2 separate regions of the Homo sapiens genome follow, and region 2 is linked to region 1. Evidence: promoter capture Hi-C in human tissues and cell types (Jung and others, 2019). All regions are on one chromosome and are shown on one strand. The core of a region is centred on a gene start or on the middle of the fragment in contact, and the rest is flanking DNA. Distances in the headings are between cores, read along the strand shown. Region 1 holds the start of CA12 (carbonic anhydrase 12). Region 2 overlaps TLN2 (talin 2).

The links. Contacts are between HindIII fragments. The study calls those that stand out against the background at their distance.
Region 2: a contact is called between a fragment that was not itself captured here and the fragment with the promoter of CA12 in region 1, in 1 of the 25 tissues and cell types used here (lymphoblastoid cells).

Annotation. Positions count from the first base shown.
Region 1 is chr15:63,380,109-63,383,674 of GRCh38, forward strand. It overlaps CA12 (carbonic anhydrase 12), which reads right to left and starts at 1,738. Exons shown (of 11, transcript NM_001218.5): 1 at 1,528-1,738. The coding sequence starts at 1,612. RefSeq lists enhancers at 1,422-1,942, 1,943-2,462. The HindIII fragment of the contact is 12,151 bases long and covers 1-3,566 here.
Region 2 is chr15:62,843,496-62,847,061 of GRCh38, forward strand. It overlaps TLN2 (talin 2), which reads left to right. Exons shown (of 59, transcript NM_015059.3): 59 at 1-1,136. LOC105370854 (a long non-coding RNA gene) reads right to left here. Exons shown (of 7, transcript XR_007064671.1): 3 at 1,410-1,645; 4 at 1-1,006. Among named protein-coding and RNA genes, the nearest start is that of MIR190A, 21 kb to the left of the region's middle. RefSeq lists enhancers at 1,891-2,391, 3,073-3,566. The HindIII fragment of the contact is 9,285 bases long and covers 1-3,566 here.

The DNA of each region.
Region 1 (3,566 bases), core at 488-2,987:
ACCCAAGGAAACTGCATGAGAATTTACAGAATAAAAGCTGTGCTCTACCCAGGGGTAGGCAGTCTCCTTCCTCAGAGTGAGGCGAAAGTGGAGTTTTGACTACAAACTTCCCCAGTCCCAACTTGGAGAATTGGGAGAGGAGATAAGGAGGAGGGAAAGGGAGAGGGAAGAGGAAGAGCAGGGAAAGTAGGGAAGAAAGGAAGGGGAGGGAGGGAAGAGAACAGGGAAGGGCAGGAAAAGAGAGAGAAGGGAGGCAGAGCTGCCCCAGAGTGAGAGGAGCAACCAGCTATAGGAAAGAGGGCCAACTAATGGCTGTTTCTCCCTTTGGTCTTGGAGCAACTTAGGACTAAAGAGATTTCCAGGGAAACTTTGGTCTCAGTGCAGCTTTCGTAAAAGGAAACATGTAAAGTTTGTGGTTTTAAAACTTGATTTTCACTTTTACATCGCTCCTTTCTCCCAACTTCTGTTACATCGCTTCTGTTTCTCCCTGACCAGATGAGGGAGATAATATCAAGCACATCATGCCAGCTAGTTGACTGGAATTTAATTAAGAGTTATCCACAGCCTGGCTCCCCTGCCCTTCCCCATGGGCACTGTGACCTCCAAGAGAGGAGGCTCAGAGCTTTTATGCTGCTGAGCAGGACACATTTCCCACCACCACTGCCTCGCCAGGAAGAATCTAGTTTCAGCCAGTAAAATCACTTTCGGTCCAAAATCACTTTCTTATTCCAAAAGATTAATGAACCAGCCTTGGCTGTACACGTGTTAGCTCACTGGCCCGGCGTGAGCCCACAGTTCAGGTCCCCTCTGCCACCTCCTCCTGTCACTCCACGGAGCCTCCATTCAGTCCCTCAGCCTCCAGCCTTTTGGGATTTAGTGTTCTAATTACAATCAGAAATATGCTGTGTGTGTGTGTGTGTGTGTGTGTGTGGTTTGTGTGCGTGCGCGCGTGCGTGTGTGTGTGTACGTGCACACACACGTACATTCAGCATAGTAGAGCCCTCCTGGAGAAAAACAATGATTAAGAATGGGATGCATCATCCCTTTGACTTGTAGGTAAGACTTAATGGTAAAGATCCTCTCCTCCAAAGAAAAGCGCCTACCACTGTCTGCGGGTTCTGCACAGGGGCACAGCAAACCTTTCTCTGTGCTTACCCCAATCAGAATGCCACAGTCATGTCTCTACTTTCTAAACGTGGATCAGGGGAACGCTGTTTTAAATCTTGGCTTTGCATCTCCTCCCTGGTTAGCAAGTTCCCAAGCCACATCTTCAGAGCTGGCGGTGCCCGGGAGTACACGCAAACATTTTAACACCAAATCTGCGCCAAGCGCCACTAGAAAGCAACGTGCTTCCCGACCCAACCTCAGCAAAGGAAAACGGAGCATCCTTTCTTGAGAATCTACTATTTGGTACTACACCTTCCCTGCTCCCCGCAGCAATGATTTTACTTTATCATTGAAGAGCCTTCAGCCCAGGGGCGGCTGAGCGCTCAGGAGTGTTAGGAAAGAAGCAGGCGGAAACTTTACCGTTCACTGGGGCCGGGCTGGAAGGCTGTTCCTTTAAGATCACCAGCAGGAGCACGGCCGCCGCGTGCAGGCTGCGCCGGGGCATCTTCGCGGGCTCCTGCGGGGCGGGCGCGGGCTGTGCCGGGGGCTCCCGGTGGCCGCTCGCTCTCCAGCTGCACACCGGGACCGCGTGCGCGCAGCCTGGGTGCCGTGGCGAGTACGTCCGCCCTTCGCTCTCCTGGCTTCCCCGGGCAGCTTTTATGGAGCAACTCAACGCCAAACACTTGATGTCATCGTGCGGGGAGGGGGTGGGGGAGGAGAACGCCCTGCCCACCGGAGGGCTGGCGCCCCAGATCCTAGGTGAGTTGTAGCCTTGACTTCAGCAGCACTCTGCGGGTCCCCGGCGCTCCTCTGGGCCAGGGCTGACCCAGGAACACAGTTCTCCGAGGAGCTGCTGGCAGGCGTGGGTGAGATCCGCCTGTCTCACATCCAGAAGGGTGCGTCTAGGGATTCCTTCAGTGGCATGCCCTTGGTCTGTCACTGGTCCTGTAACAGCCCAACGAGTTCACCTTGCCCGCTGCTTAGACAGAGCCCATTTATCAAGACAGGGGAGTTGCAATGGAGAAAGTAATTCACGCAGAGCTTGCCGTGCCGGAGACCGGAGGTTTTCGTTCCTTTGTTTGTTTGTTTGAGACGGAGTCTCGCTCTGTTGCCCAGGCCGGAGTGCAATAGCGTGATCTCGGCTCACTGCAACCTCCGCCTCCCGGGTTCAAGCGATTCTCCTGCCTCAGCCTCCCGAGTAGCTGGGATTACAGGCACATGCCACCATGCCCAGATAATTTTTGTATTTTTAGTAGAGGCGGGGTTTCGCCAGTTTAAGGCTGGCCTTAAACTCCCGACCTCAGATAATTCACCTGCCTTGGCTTCCCAAAGTGCTGGGATTACAGGCGCCCACCACCACACCCGGCTAATTTTTCTAATTTTAGTAGAGACGGGGTTTCACCATGTTGGCCAGGCTGGTCTGGAACTCCTGACCTCAAATGATCCACCTACCTTGGCCTCCTAAAGTACTGGGATTCCAGTACTCAAATCAGTCTCCCCAAGCATTCCGGGAGTTGTTTGTTTGTTTGTTTGTTCAGACGGAGTCTCCCTCTGTCGCCCAGGCTGAAATGCAGTGGCATGGTCTTGGCTCACTGCAACCTCTGCCTCACGGGTTCAAGCGATTCTCCTGCCTCAGCCTCCTGGGTAGCTGGGATTACAGGCACGCGCCGCCACACCCAGCTAATTTTTGTATTTTTAGTAGAGACGGGGTTTCACCATGTTGGCCAGGCTGGTCTTGATCTCTTGATCTCGTGATCCACCTAAAGTGCTGGGATTACAGGCGTTGAACCACTGCACCCTGCCTCTGGGAGTTTTTAAAGATAATTTGGCAGATAGGGGCTTGGGACTTGGGGAGTGCTGATTGGTCAGGTTGCAGATGGGATCACAGGGGGGTTGAAGTAACGTTTTCTTGCAGTCTTCTGTTCCTGGGTGGGATCGCAGAACTGGTTGAGCCAGATCACACACGGTCTGAGTGGTGTCAGCTGATCCATCCAGTGCAGGGTCTGCAAAATAGGATGTTAGATTTTACAATAGCGATGTTATCCCCAGCAGCAACTTGGGAAGGTTCAGACTCTTGCAGCCTGACGCCGCAGGACCCCTAAACCATAATTTCTAATGTTGTAACTAATAGATTAATCGTACAAAGGCAGACTGGCACCCAGGCAAGAAGGGGGTCTTTTCGGGAAAGGGCTATTATTGATTTTGTTTCTGAGTCAAACCATAAACTGAATTCCTTTCTAAGGTTAGTTTGGCCTATGCCCAGGAATGAATAAGGACAGCATGAAAGTTAGAAGAAAGACTGAGTCATTTAGGTCTGATCTTTGTCACTGCCATAATTTCCTCAGTTATAATTTTTGCAAAGGCTGTTTCAGCCCTACTCAGAATCCCCCAAGTATAGTGCCATTTGGGCAAAAGCCTCCTTCATGCTTTTTTTTTTTTTTCTTCAGGTGCCTGCCTGG
Region 2 (3,566 bases), core at 667-3,166, 540 kb before region 1:
CAGTCCCTCCAGGTCGGCTGCAGAGGCAGCTGCCCAGCCTGCAGTCTATGCACGGGCCTTAAGAAATGAGCTGCCTGTAGCCTCACGGCATATGCTTTTATCAGGGAAAACCCTTCGAGCTTCTTCTGATTCTCACCTGCTTGCTTTCTGGCTGTCTTAGTCAGTGTGTTTACAGGCAACTAAAGCCTGTTCCTAATTTATCAAAAAATTATAACCAAAATTCACCATAGCCTAAGAGAGTAAACCCCACCTCCAAAGTGATGCCAAGGCCAAAACCTCATCAAGGAACCAGACACAGGTCAAAAGTGGTGAGCAAGCCATGGTCTCTGCTCCTGGGGAACTCACACGCTGACCCCCGAGGAGCCTTGGTTTCCTCCCTGGCAGATAGTCCCCAGAATCTTCTCTCCCAGCTTTGAGGTTCTGGGCTCTGGAAAGGCCTCTGGGATGCTGGCCTTAAGATCTCAGCACAGACTATCAGCATGTTCCATTCTCAGATTCCTGGAGGAAAGGTACCCTCTGTTGACCAAGGGGCTGGCTGCTTCTGAGACTTACCAACCCAAGAAATTTGGAGACATTCCCCTCAGGCTAAAAGGCAGCGGTCCCCAGAGTTCAGAAAGCAAAAGATCTTGACAACTGTGCCAGTAGTGGCTCTGGTCCTATCTCTCCACAGTGCTGGCCTCTGCTGGGGAAGGCATCTTTCCCAAAGGTATCCCCAAGTACCATGTTGAAAATGTCCTCAGTCTGTTGCTCCATCTTTCTGAGCCTCTGCTTGGTATGTCATGTTTATGGTCACTACGGATGAGTGTGTGCAGAGTTTGGGTTGATTCTTTTAAATGCTACAAACAAGAGCTATTTCTTTTCAATAAAAAAGGTTTGGATTCGGCCTCTTCCTCTGAGCCCACCTCCCAGCCCTCCAGGGAGCATCAGTGTACCTGAGTCACTTTGTCTGCATCTCTTCATCCCACAAAACACGAGGCTGGGTCTCATTCAGCGGCCTCTCACCAACCTTCAAGATCCAGAAGAAAACAGGAACGTTCAGCTCTGCCCTGTGTCGTATCTAATCACATACATTAATTTATCTAACCACATAAGTTATTTTTTTTTATTTGCCAGAAATAAACCTTTAAAGGAACAAACCTGTGTGGAGGACTCATGGGAATGGGAGGAAGATGGAAAAGAAGGGGGAAGAGACTGTCTTTATCATGAGAGTAAAATTCCACCTTGAGGACTAGCTCCATAGTTACCAGAGGTATGTCAGGAGAGAGCACGTGTGTGTGAGTGAGTGACAGACGCAGAGCCACAGGGTGCCACAGAATTTCATGTAGCTTTGCTGACAAGAGTTAACTTGGAGAAACTCCAGGAGCAGGCGTCCTGGACAAGTAGCTAGGGGGCTTTTTGGCTTTACATACCGCCTCTGTCAGAAGACCGCACAGCTGAATACAGAAGTGCATATGGGATCATCTCCAATCTTGACCCAGGTCCTGGCACAGGAAGGTTAGGTTCACTTCTGACAGCTGAGGCCACAACTGCAACCCCCGGAGACTGCCAGGCCCTCCTTCCTGTTTGGACTGGGAATTGCTGGGGGCCAGAAGTCCTTGTTTGTGGCGGGGCAGCCAGACTTAGAAAAGTGTGAGGCATTTCTAATCTGCAAGAGGGGGTGTCAAAGAATCACCATCGCAACGAAGAGAGTCACTGGTATGTCTAACAACCAATAAGAAAGATTTTTTTTCACGCTTGAAAGGATGATTTAGGATCTCTAAGCCAGTTGATAATGAAGGTTTTTATATCTTTGATTAACAAGAACAACAAAAATGAGATTGGAGCTGACCACACCCAAAATGAATGTGGGAAGCCTGAGCCGACCAGGAAGGGGTGAGAGGACTGACTGACTTAATGAGCCTCCTGGGTGTCAGCTCGGTGCTGCTGGACACCCAGAGCCCAGCCCTCCGCAGCTGTGGGGAAGGTGGTGTGGCCATTTTGCAGAGCGGCAAACCAAGACTCATGCAGAAGTGGTGTCTGCAGGAGTTCAGATCCTCTGCACACGCAGCTCAATCAGGCTGACCCATCAACTACGACCTTAACTTAGAAGTGCCCCAGCCCCTGCTGTGTGTAGGACTCTGGGGACCCGAGCCTAATTCCTGGAGGAGGTCACAGTCCAGGGAGGGCAAACATTGACCCAAGGGTGTGGGAGTAAAGGGCAGAGCCCTGAAGCTGGGAAGGATTTCCAAGAGGAGGACATTTGGCCCGACTCCTAATAAATAGGAGTTCCCCAGCAGAGAAGGGATGGGGGTGGCACTCCAGGCTGCAGGAACCGCACTTAGGTAGGCCTGGGTTTCTGAAGAGGCAGTTGCTTAAGGAGGTGAACAATTCCCTGAGGCCGGCAAGGAGGCAGCCAGGAGCACACCGTGAGGGGCCTTGTGTCAGGGAGGGCACTTCAGGTCCAGTCATAAGATGAATCACTCTGCAGGAGATCAGGAGAGAGATTCTGTGCAGGGAAAATGCATGATGGAAACAGGAGATGCACTAACAAAGGTCAGCAACTGGAGAATGAATTCGGTTCCAAGGTAAAAAAAATTCAAAGCAGGGTGAGCTGGGCCACAGAGCTGCCCAGTGGGAGATGCTGTAGTGGGAGGGGCTGCTGCCAGAGGTAGGATGGGGGAGCCGCGTTCCATCTCTAAGTTAGCTAACACCTACCCTACACCTACCACGTGCCAGACACGCACCATTATCACCTTTATTTAATCCTCACAACTATACCCTGTACAACGCATGGGTGCTCTTATCTCCATTTTATAGCCAGCAAGGCTGAGGCACAGAGAGGTTAGGTAACTTGCCCAAGGCCACACAGCTAGCAGAACGGGGATCTCCCAACCACTATGTTAAGATCACCCAGCTAGTGAGTGGCAAAGCAAGGATTGAAATTCCAATTTGTTTCCAAAGCTTTTTTTTTTTTTTTAAATCAAGAGCATAGGGAGAACCTCAGTCAGACCTGGCTAGTGGGATAGATATTAAGCAGGCAGACACAGGGAGAGGGAGCTGGGGGCAGACGGAACTGTGTGCATATGGCAGAACCTGGGATGTGCTGGGGGCTCCTGGGCGAGTAGGGAAAGAGACCATAGGGGCTGGTGGGGGCTGCAGGAGAGGCCAAGTCTGCACATGTCTGGTGAGGGGAAGAAGAAGACATTCTGAGACCACTGAGTGAGCCCGTGCTACCGAGCTTGTTCTGTATCATGCAGTCACAGAGAGCCTTGCTTTACTTTATTCCCACTGAGTGTCTCCAAAACCCTGTTTTCAGACCACAGCTCTATCCTGGGTTTAAAACCACAGCGTTCACAGGTAGTTCTGTGGTTCCGAGATACTCCACCAGGCATTTTTATCTGAACACCTTCCACCCCAAGCAGAGCACAATTGCAGGAGTTCTGCTGCCTGAACTCCCCAAGGGGAGAAGCCCCAGCCCAGACCCTCTATGGCCAGGCTGACCTGGGGGTGGTGGGCGGAAAACCCTGCCTGTGTGGGCTGGCACCTAGGAGGGGCAGTAACAGCCTGAGCTCTTGCGGCCATATTCA